Linked DNA regions of Homo sapiens: region 2 is linked to region 1. Evidence: promoter capture Hi-C in 16 types of primary human blood cells and fetal thymus (Javierre and others, 2016). All regions are on one chromosome and are shown on one strand. The core of a region is centred on a gene start or on the middle of the fragment in contact, and the rest is flanking DNA. Distances in the headings are between cores, read along the strand shown. Region 1 holds the start of PRKCZ (protein kinase C zeta). Region 2 overlaps TTC34 (tetratricopeptide repeat domain 34).

Region 1 (4,632 bases), core at 1,830-4,329:
CGGGAGAGACTCCTGCGTCTCTGTTGGCCTCAGCACCAAGCCCTGGGCTTTGCACACAGAAGCTCCCTGAACACAAACGTTGTCTGAGCTGGGCCAGGCGCGGTGACTCACGCCTTTCATCCCAGCGCTTTGGGAGGCCAAGGCGGGCGGATCACGAGGTCAGAAGTTCGAGACCAGCCTGGCCAACAAAGTGAAACCTCATCTCTACTAAAACTACAAAAGTTAACCGGGCGTGGTGGCGGGCGTCTGTAGTCCTAGATACTAGGGAGGCTGAAGCAGGAGAATTGCTTGAACCTCGGAGGTGAAGGATACAGTGGGCCGAGACCACACCACTGCAGCCTGGGCAACACAGCGAGACTCAAAAAAAAAAAAAAGTCTGAGCTGAAAGAGGGAAGAGCCAGCACCAGTGTTTGTGGCCCTAGAAGAGCGGGCATCTGAGACTCAGCGTGGGAGTCTGGCCCAGGCCACCTGGGACTCCCTGAAAACACAGGTGCCTGGGGACCCCTCAGGCCCACAGGGGGCGGGGTGGGGTGGCGAGGATTGGATCTCAAGTGTGCTCAGAGGGCCCTGGGAGGACAGGCAAGGATGACGGGGTGGCCATGCCCCATGGGGGTGACTGAAGTGCTCTTCCTTTTTCTAAAGACTAGTCTTCCACGTGTCCACGCTCAGCTACCCCCACGGACAGCAGCGTCTCACCCCAGGGACAGAGTTTCTAGGGCTTTCAATAACCCAGTACTCATCCTGGCAGCCGCTTTCTGGAACTGTGTCATTGCCCTAAGGCCTGAGTGTCCCACCCCACAGCCAGTCCCCTCAGAGAGGCACCGGGTGCCCAGAGGGACGAGGAGCCAGAACGGGGAGAAGGGTACTTCACACTCTGCAGCAGAGAGGAGGAGGACCTGGGAGGGGAGAGAGGAGAGAAGGAATGGTAGGAGCAGGGAAGAGCCAGAGGGGAGACGTGCCCTAGAAGGGGGAGGAAGGTGAAGGAAGAGGTGTGGCAGGGAAGGGAGAGAGGGGAGAGCGGGAAGAGGAGGGAAAACAACAGGGAAGGAGGGAGGAAGAGGAAGGGGTGGGGAGAGAGGGGAGAGAGTCCGGGAAGGGAGGGAAGAGGAAGGGGTGGGAGCCTGGTCTCTCCAGCCTGGGAAACCAGAGTCACCGGGTGGAATTACACCCGCCCCACCACCAAAGTGCTCCCAGGGGCCAAAGCAAGGCAGAGGGAGGACGGGGCGGCCCAGAACTCCAGTGGCATTGCCTCCGAGCCTTGGTCCCAGGAATTGGACGCCGGAATGCAGGAGGGTCTGGGCCCCTGCAGCCCCTCGGGTGTGGACCTCCCTCTCGCAGGACTCCCCTGAGCTCCGCACCATCACCTGTTGCCCAGTGTGGTGGCTCCAGAATGGCAAGGAGACAGGAAGCCCAGGTCCCTGGACAAGTCCAATAGCCAGAACGTCAACCATACCAAGTTTTAACCTGCTGACCTCCAGGCCAAAAGACATGGCTGCCCTACCTCTTCAGGTAGGGCTGGACGGTCAGTCCCCCAGAAATCCCTTTCTTCTGGTTCTGGCACCAAACCCGGGCCACTGCACCCCGAAGGTTCCAGGTGCTTGCCACAGGGGAGCTGCAGAGGCCCCAACCTTCCCAAAGAAGAGACAATTGAGCCTCCTCAACAAACCCGGGGCCAAGCAGCCCCAGATGGCTGACCCGAGACCCCAAGACAAGGTTCGCAGGAAGCTGAACCCGCTCAGACTCGCAGGGCACCATAGAGACCCCCGGGGCACTGTCCTGAGAGGACGTGGCCCGGGGAAGTTGTCACCCGCCTAACCCTGCCGGCCGTCCCTGCCTCTGGGGCTCAGGTTGCCCACGCTGTAGCTGAGGACGCACCGGGGCAGGAGCAGCTTTTCGAGATCCCAAGGACCAGCCAGTGCAAGTCCGGAGCCCGCATTCTGCTCCCCTCCCTCTCTGCAGCAGCAGCCACCCTCGCGGGAGCGGAGGTCCCAGTTCGGGGCTCCTGGAGACGCGCACAGGTGGAAGAACAAACCCACGGGTCCTCCCCTCCCCACCGCCCACACTTCGGGGGGCAGCGACCCCTCCGCTGTGCCTGTGAGCCCGGCCACCTGGTGCAGCCCCCGCCACCCCCAGCAGCGCTGCCCCGAGGCGGCGGCCAAGAGTCCAGGACCCCTCCGCTCCAGCACCTGACCGCGCCCCCTCCCACAGCCAGGCAAGGGCCTCCGGGGGGCGGGTGCGACGCAAACCCCAGGGTCAGTCTCGGCCCCACCGTCTCCTCCAGAAACCCCTGTCCCCGCCCGACCGCCCCGAGCCCTGCCGGGGGCTGCATTGGAGCCACAGCGCCCGCGCCCCGGGTCTCCGGATTTTGGCTAAAGCGAGACCCCCGACCGGGTAAACGTGGAGAACGTTTAGGAAACGCTGATTTTAAGAAACCCGCCAGGAGTTTTCACAACTTGATGAAAACTTTCAGTCCTTACAGGTTTGCGGCCGGAACGTCCCCGCCCAACTTTCCAGCGAAAACGTCTACCACAATGACCGGGCCGAGGAGCTCGCGGCGCGGGGCCGACCCCAGGGAAACCCGGTCCCGGGGAAGGAGCCCGCGCTGTCCACGACGTGTCCGCGGGTGACGCTCACGGGCGGGGACCGAGGACCTCCCGCGACAGCCCCGGGCCCGCAGCGACCTCGCCGCCCCTTCCCTCTCTCCCTCTCGCGCAGGAGCCCCGACGGCTGAGCCCTCCCCGCCCTCCCTGCCTCACCCGCGCCGCTCCCCGCCCTCTCCGCCGCTCACCCCCCGTAATGCGCCTTGAGGCGGACGCGGCCGCCGCTCCCTTCCATCTTGGGGCCGGTCCTGCTGGGCATGGCGCGCTCCCCCCGCCGCCGTCAGCGCTGCGCCCCGGGAGCTCCGGCCATGGCGCGGGGCGGGGGCTCCAGGTGGGGCCGCGGCGGAACGCGGAAGGCAGCGCTCAGGACCGACGGCGCCGACCCGGTCAACTCCGCGGAACTCCGGCGGCGCGCGGGGCGGGAGCGGGGGGCGCGCGGGGCGGGACCGTCCGGCGGGGGCGGGGGGCGGTGTCCGAACATGGCGGACCGAGGTGGAGCCAGCGGCCAATCCGCGGGGCGGGCGGTCCCGGGGCGGGCGGTGGCACCTGCGGCCAATGAGGGCGAGGCGGGGCCGCCACCTGGGCCAATCCTCGGGGGACACCCGGCCGCGGCCCAATGGCGAGGCGCGGGCGGGGCTACCTGTCGGGCGGGGCTACCTGTTGGGCGGGGCGCGGCGCACCTGCGCCAATGGGACCGCGCGCGGCGCGGCTCTGCCCGGCAACCGGAGGGGCCCCGGCCTCTGGGACGGAGCGGCGCCCCCGGGAACTCGCTGGAAACGCGAGTTCTCGGCCTTCGCCCAGACCCTCCGAATCGAAACTCCTGCGGCGCGCGCTGCCAGCCCGAGGGCCCCGCCGTCCAGGGGTCCCCTGACATCTCACACTTGCGGACTGAAGCTGCGAGGAGCGGAGAACCCGGCCAGGGTCACGGACGGGAGCGTCCGGACTCGGGTTCTCTGGGCCCCAGCCCCCACTCCGCCCCCAGCGAATCCAAGGTCCCCTGTAGGGAAGGGCCGTCCACACTCGTGAGTGCAACCGCTCACTTCGCCCAGGTCAAGGACGCGGCATTGGCCCGAGTCGCCCATGACCTTCATTTCTGAAGCCACAGCCTCTCGGGCCTTACTCGAGGGGCTTGATCTGGACAATCGCCCTCCAGGCCCCTCCACCGCCGCCCAGCTCCCTGCCTCCTGGGCTCCTCCCCTGAAAATACGGTTTTCCCTGATCAGCCCATCCCTTACTGGCTGCATCCACTGAAGCCCAGACCTGCTGCCTGCAGGACCTCACCCAGGCACCAGGTGGACACCCAGACCCAGTTCCTGGCCTCGGCCCCTCTCCCCTGAGAGTGGACCTGCTCAGGCCACGCCCTCACACCCCTCACCCAGACACAGCCACCAGGACTTCAGCCACGTGCTTTCATCCCGCAGGTCGTGCCTGGCGCCTCCTTGATGCCAGGCCCTGGGGAGACCTGTGGCCACAGAACCCATGTTCTCCCTGGAGATGGACAGGAGGCCCCTCTCCTACGCAGAAGCTGTCGTTTTTTCTTCTTAAACACCGTTTGCCCCTCCCTCCACCCACCGAGCCATCTCTGCCCCTCTCTACAGCAAAGCTTCCGCCAAGCCGGCCCTGCTCCCTGTCTACCTCTCCTGCCACCACCCACTCACACGTTTTAAATACAAGCCGTCGGTTCTCAGACGTTTTCTCTTTTTTTCTTTCTTTTTCTTTTTTTTGAGATGGAGTTTCGCTCTTGCTGCCCAGGCTGAGTGCAATGGCATGATGTCGGCTCACTGCAACTTCTGCCTCCTGGGTTCAAACCATTCTCCTGCCTCAGTCTCCCAAGTAGCTGGGATTACAGGTGTCCACCACCATGCCCAGCTGATTTTTGTATTTTTAGTAGAGACGGGGTTTTTCCATATTGGCCAGGCTGGTCTCGAACTCCTGACCTCAGGTGATCCACCTGCCTTGGCTTCCCAAAGTGCTGGGATTACAGGCGTGAGCCACTGTGCCCGGCCTCAGACATTTTCTTAACTTGGCCTTT
Region 2 (4,347 bases), core at 1,398-3,897, 590 kb before region 1:
CTGAGCCCTCTCCAGAGACAGAGCTCCCAAATGGGCCCAGCCAGCCCATACCCCAAGCTGACCTTTCAGGGTGCTTTCATGGGGGCCCTTCATCGAGAATCCAGTGTGCTGGGGGTAAACTTCCTCCCTCCTCCACAGGCCCCTCCCTTCCAAGCAGAGGGACCACCGAGGGGCCCTGATGAGCACAGTCCCCAGGCTCCCACCAGACCTGTCTCCCGAAGCTGCTGGGAGGTATCAGTGCTTCCACAGAGCGAGAGAACAGCTTGTTCTTATACGTGCGTTAAATGTCCCCAGGCCTTGCAGCTGCCAGTGAGCTTGGGGACTTCTGGGTGGGGCAGAGGCAGCCAGCCTTTGCCCATCACTGTGAGTGTCACAGACTGAGGCCTCAGCCCGGGGCTTTCTCTCATGGCCATGGGCGAGAGACATGCTGGGTGAGCTGACTCGGTGCAAAACGTGCCCCCAAGCCCTGCCTGACTTCACCCTGGGGAGACAGGGCCACGACCCCCCCTCCTGGCTTCTCTCTCCTCCTGGGCACTTGCATTTGTCCCATTTCTGTCCCCTTCTCTGCCGCTTCCTTCCATGGTCTTGAACCCACAGATAGACCCCCTGCCTCTCCACCCACTTCGCTTCTGGGATCATCTGACGAACCCCAGTCCAGGGGGTCAGGCAGGGAGGGGCCCTATTCCTCGCCCTGCATGGAAGTGGGGCCCCCAGGCGGCAGGTGCAGGGCTGGGTAGCCCCCCTCCTCCTCAGGCCTCACCCACTCCTCAACCCCCATGCACCTTCATCAGCTGGCACCGCCTATGTGTCTCTGGCCACAGGGGTCTGGGTAAAGGGTCAGTGCCTCCCACCTTGAGTACCTCGGGGATGGGCAGCCCACAGTGGGAGAGGGCCCTGACAGGGACCTTCAGCCCCGCTCCTCGCCTTCCCCGCTCGGAATCTTCACGCAGTCCCCCTCTTCCGGGGTTCCCCAGCGCAGGCACCAATTTGATCCATCTTCCGCCTGCCAGCTCCCCATCCACCCTTCCCTCCCTGTCTTCACCCGTGTGCTCAAGGACTCAACAAACACCTGTCAGCAGCCCAAGAGCTAAGTTCAGGGACACGCAAGTTCCTCGGGTCAGGTGGGCCAGTCGGCACTGAGGCAGAGGAGGCAAGGGCTGGTCCAGAGAGCCTGGTCACAGCAGAAGGGCCTGCTCCAATGTCGGGGCCAGGTGGAGGCAGTGGGGAGGCGTCCCCTAGGGGTGCCCTTCCCCACCACGTTCCCTGCTCCTACCGTCCTCCTCGCCTGGGATGTCCTGCCCCATCCATCCGTGCAAGGCTGAGTGTAGATGCCAGCCCCGCTGAGGCTCCTCCTGGACCTCAGGATCGCTGTGTTTCTCCCCCACCAGGGGGCTGCCCCCTCTACCACCAGCTCACCCAGCAGGTATCTCTCATCAGCCTTTGGCCTGGCTCCTTGCTGGGCTCTGAATGTCTGCATTCCCCCAAACTTTATGTGTTGCGATCCTAACCCCCAAGGTTATGGTATCAGAAGTGGGGCTTTTGGGAGATGACCAGGGGTGGAACCTCATGAGTGGGATTAGTGTCCTTATAAAAGAGACCCCAGAGTTCTCCCAAGCCCCTCCACCATGTGGAGACCCAGTGAGAAGCTGTCTGTGAACCAGGAAGGGATCCTCACTAGAGAGCGAGCTGGCACCTTCATCTTGGGCTTCCAGCCTCCAGAACTGTGAGAAATAAGTATCTGTTGATGAACCACCTGTCTCTGCTATTCTGTTGGGGCAGTCCAGATAGACAAAGACATGCCCGTTCCCGCGGCCCACCACCTCTGCCCTGAGCACAGTGGGTGAGTCTCGGTTCCCCTTATCCCATCCCTGCTGGGGTCCAGCCCTGGCTTTTCCTGAGGTAGTTTCTCCAGGACCAAGCAGACACCCACAACCAGCAGCCCTTAAGGCATGGACGCACTCGTCCCTGAGGCCTGGGTGTCCCGCCTGGAGGGGCATGTCCACAGCTGCTCTGGGTCCTGACGCTCCAGGAGCTCACGCTGTCTGCAGATCCACCACTTCCCTGGGCAGTCCCCGGCCTGCGTCTTCCTCAGTGCTCAGCTGGAGGTGGAGAGAAATCAGGCTGGGACGGAGGGTGGCCCTTGCTTTGCACGATTCCTGCCTCGACGTTACACCAGGGACATTCCAGCATCTCCCCTTCATTAACTGTAGACCGCCAGCAAATCCAGATTTCATTCAACCAAGTAAACTGGTAGAGTCATTTCCAGCAGCTAATGTGAGCTAGCGCATTAAATTCAGAATCTCTAGTAAGTGTACCTGCATCAATAAAGCCAAGCCGGTCCAGCTGCATTAATACCCTACCCTCCATTCCCACACGGTTCCCAGGTCTCCGTGTGTGAATTTGTAACATCTTACGAGCATTTTGGTGTGAAAGTGGTTCCTTCCTGAGTCAGGCTTTGTACTTGACCCTTCCCCTCCCTGGGAGTACACTGAGGTTCTAGAGGCAACAGGGTGGCTATGGTGGTTAAATAAAATGAGCATCATTTCTAGGCACCTGGCCAGGTAAGCTTATCACAGCATTTTCAAGCAGAACAAAAAAAATAAATAAAGGCTACTCTCAGATCTTGGAGGACAAGCTGCTTCCCCTGGAAGGAGAGGCTCAGAGAACCAGGGGGTTCACAATTCTCAGCTTCATCTGAGCCCAACCAGACATCCCCATGCCAAGCTTCAGCATCCAGTTCCTTCCCACTCAGTGCCCACGTTTCAGTAGTGAGGCTGTGAGTGTGAGCCACACAGCAGTCACACAACTCAGAGTTAAACTGTGCATCCGAGTTGTAGCAGCAGCAGCCCCGAGGCTCTCAGGAACAAGGGACTCTTCCATGGCCATGGCAGTCCTGATTCTCTGTCTATGACTTAAACTGAGTTTAGAGACCTGAACGTGTGGTTCCTTCCTGTTAGTGCTGCTGGACACTCAGGGGACCCCCCACAGCCCTCGTGGTTGTGGTCATCCTCGTGGCCGTGACAGCCTCACACAGCAGCACGTGGGTTCCCGAGGCCCTCAATTCTGCTGGTGCCTCACAGCCAGCATGGGGGATGGCTTGGTTAACTGTGAAGCTCCCCCAACAACACTGTGGGCCAACAGCCTCCCCTTCCCACTGGCCAGGAGATCGGCCTGCAGCCCAGCCCAAGCAACAACCACACTAACCTAATCCCCGGACCCCACCTTTTGATAGTGACAGGAGGCAGACAAATCCTAGGCAGACAGGGACAGGTTCCCAGTGAAACCCCACCTCCGAGCCAAAGACAGTTTAAAGCCTGAAAGCCAAGCTACAAATTAAATCCTCAGCCTGGATTGAGAACCCATCTTCCCATTTGGCTGCTTTCCTCTGATTGATCCCCACCCTTCACCTATTTTACATGTACCTATCTTTTCCTAATTCATTTTCTACACTGGCATGCCCACCTTTGAGTGGTACCTTTGTTTAAGCCTTTTTTGCATAATCAGAAGCCAATCAGCATGCACTCCCCCATTCTGAGCCCATAAATGCCCCGGACCCAGCCACACTAGGAGAGAAACCACCTGACTTCAGGTCGGGAACCACCCGTGCATCCCCTCTCTGCTGAGAGCTGTTCCGTCTCTCAATAAAATTCTTCTCTGCCCTTCTCACACTTCGATTGGCAGCATCTCCTCATTCTTCTTGGACACGGGACAAGAACTTGGGAACTGCCATACATGGGTACAAGCTATAACACAAGCAGGCTGGAACATGCCCAGCCCAGCCACAGGCTGAGCTGGTGAACAGCCAGGTGTGGCCCAGGCAGGCTGAGTGGGTGGGCCACCTCCTGCGGCAGGTAGCATGGCCAAGAGAGGCCTGGGGAGGGGGGGTGTCAGCAGCCAGAGGTACCTGGCTGGCAAAGTGACCAAAGAGGTACCTGACTGTGTCACTTTGAGGGCCTGTCTCTGGGGACCCCCTCCTAGTATGAATTTATGTATCAGTTGGGGTCTACTTGGGAGATGGAAACCACAACAGTGATTCTAATAGCATGAATTTAATGTGCAGAATTTTTCATTAGTTCTGGGTAAAAACAGCTCTAGGGAATCATGGAGGTTGCAACCACAAAATTCAGAGAGGTGACCTGGCTGGCGACACTGGTGATAATGGTCACCTGCCATGCAGCCTTTCAGCTCAGGTGGGCACACTCCTCTGCCCCTGCCCACTTCCTCTCCCAGGTGAATCTTGACCACACCTGTGCCTGGCACTGTGCACACATTCTCTGTTGTTCAACTCTGCGATCAATCTGGAAAAAAAAGAAAAAAAAAAAACCTTTTTAGGAGAGTAAAAGGAAA

Evidence for each region. The method cuts DNA at HindIII sites, captures the fragments that hold promoters and counts their contacts. A CHiCAGO score of 5 or more calls a contact.
Region 2: a fragment that was not itself captured here is called in contact with the fragment with the promoter of PRKCZ in region 1 in 1 of 17 cell types (naive CD8 T cells); the score reaches 5.8 in naive CD8 T cells.

Annotation. Positions count from the first base shown.
Region 1 is chr1:2,048,858-2,053,489 of GRCh38, reverse strand. PRKCZ (protein kinase C zeta) reads right to left here and starts at 3,079. Exons shown (of 18, transcript NM_002744.6): 1 at 2,789-3,079. The coding sequence starts at 2,859. It overlaps PRKCZ-DT (PRKCZ divergent transcript), which reads left to right and starts at 3,420. Exons shown (of 3, transcript NR_135509.1): 1 at 3,420-3,622; 2 at 3,824-3,892; 3 at 4,022-4,289. RefSeq lists a silencer at 2,892-3,501. The HindIII fragment of the contact is 10,768 bases long and covers 1-4,205 here.
Region 2 is chr1:2,636,307-2,640,653 of GRCh38, reverse strand. It overlaps TTC34 (tetratricopeptide repeat domain 34), which reads left to right. Exons shown (of 9, transcript NM_001242672.3): 9 at 1-3,668. It overlaps MMEL1-AS1 (MMEL1 antisense RNA 1), which reads right to left. Exons shown (of 3, transcript NR_183343.1): 3 at 4,034-4,298. Among named protein-coding and RNA genes, the nearest start is that of MMEL1, 5.5 kb to the right of the region's middle. RefSeq lists a silencer at 2,417-2,617. The HindIII fragment of the contact is 158 bases long and covers 2,569-2,726 here.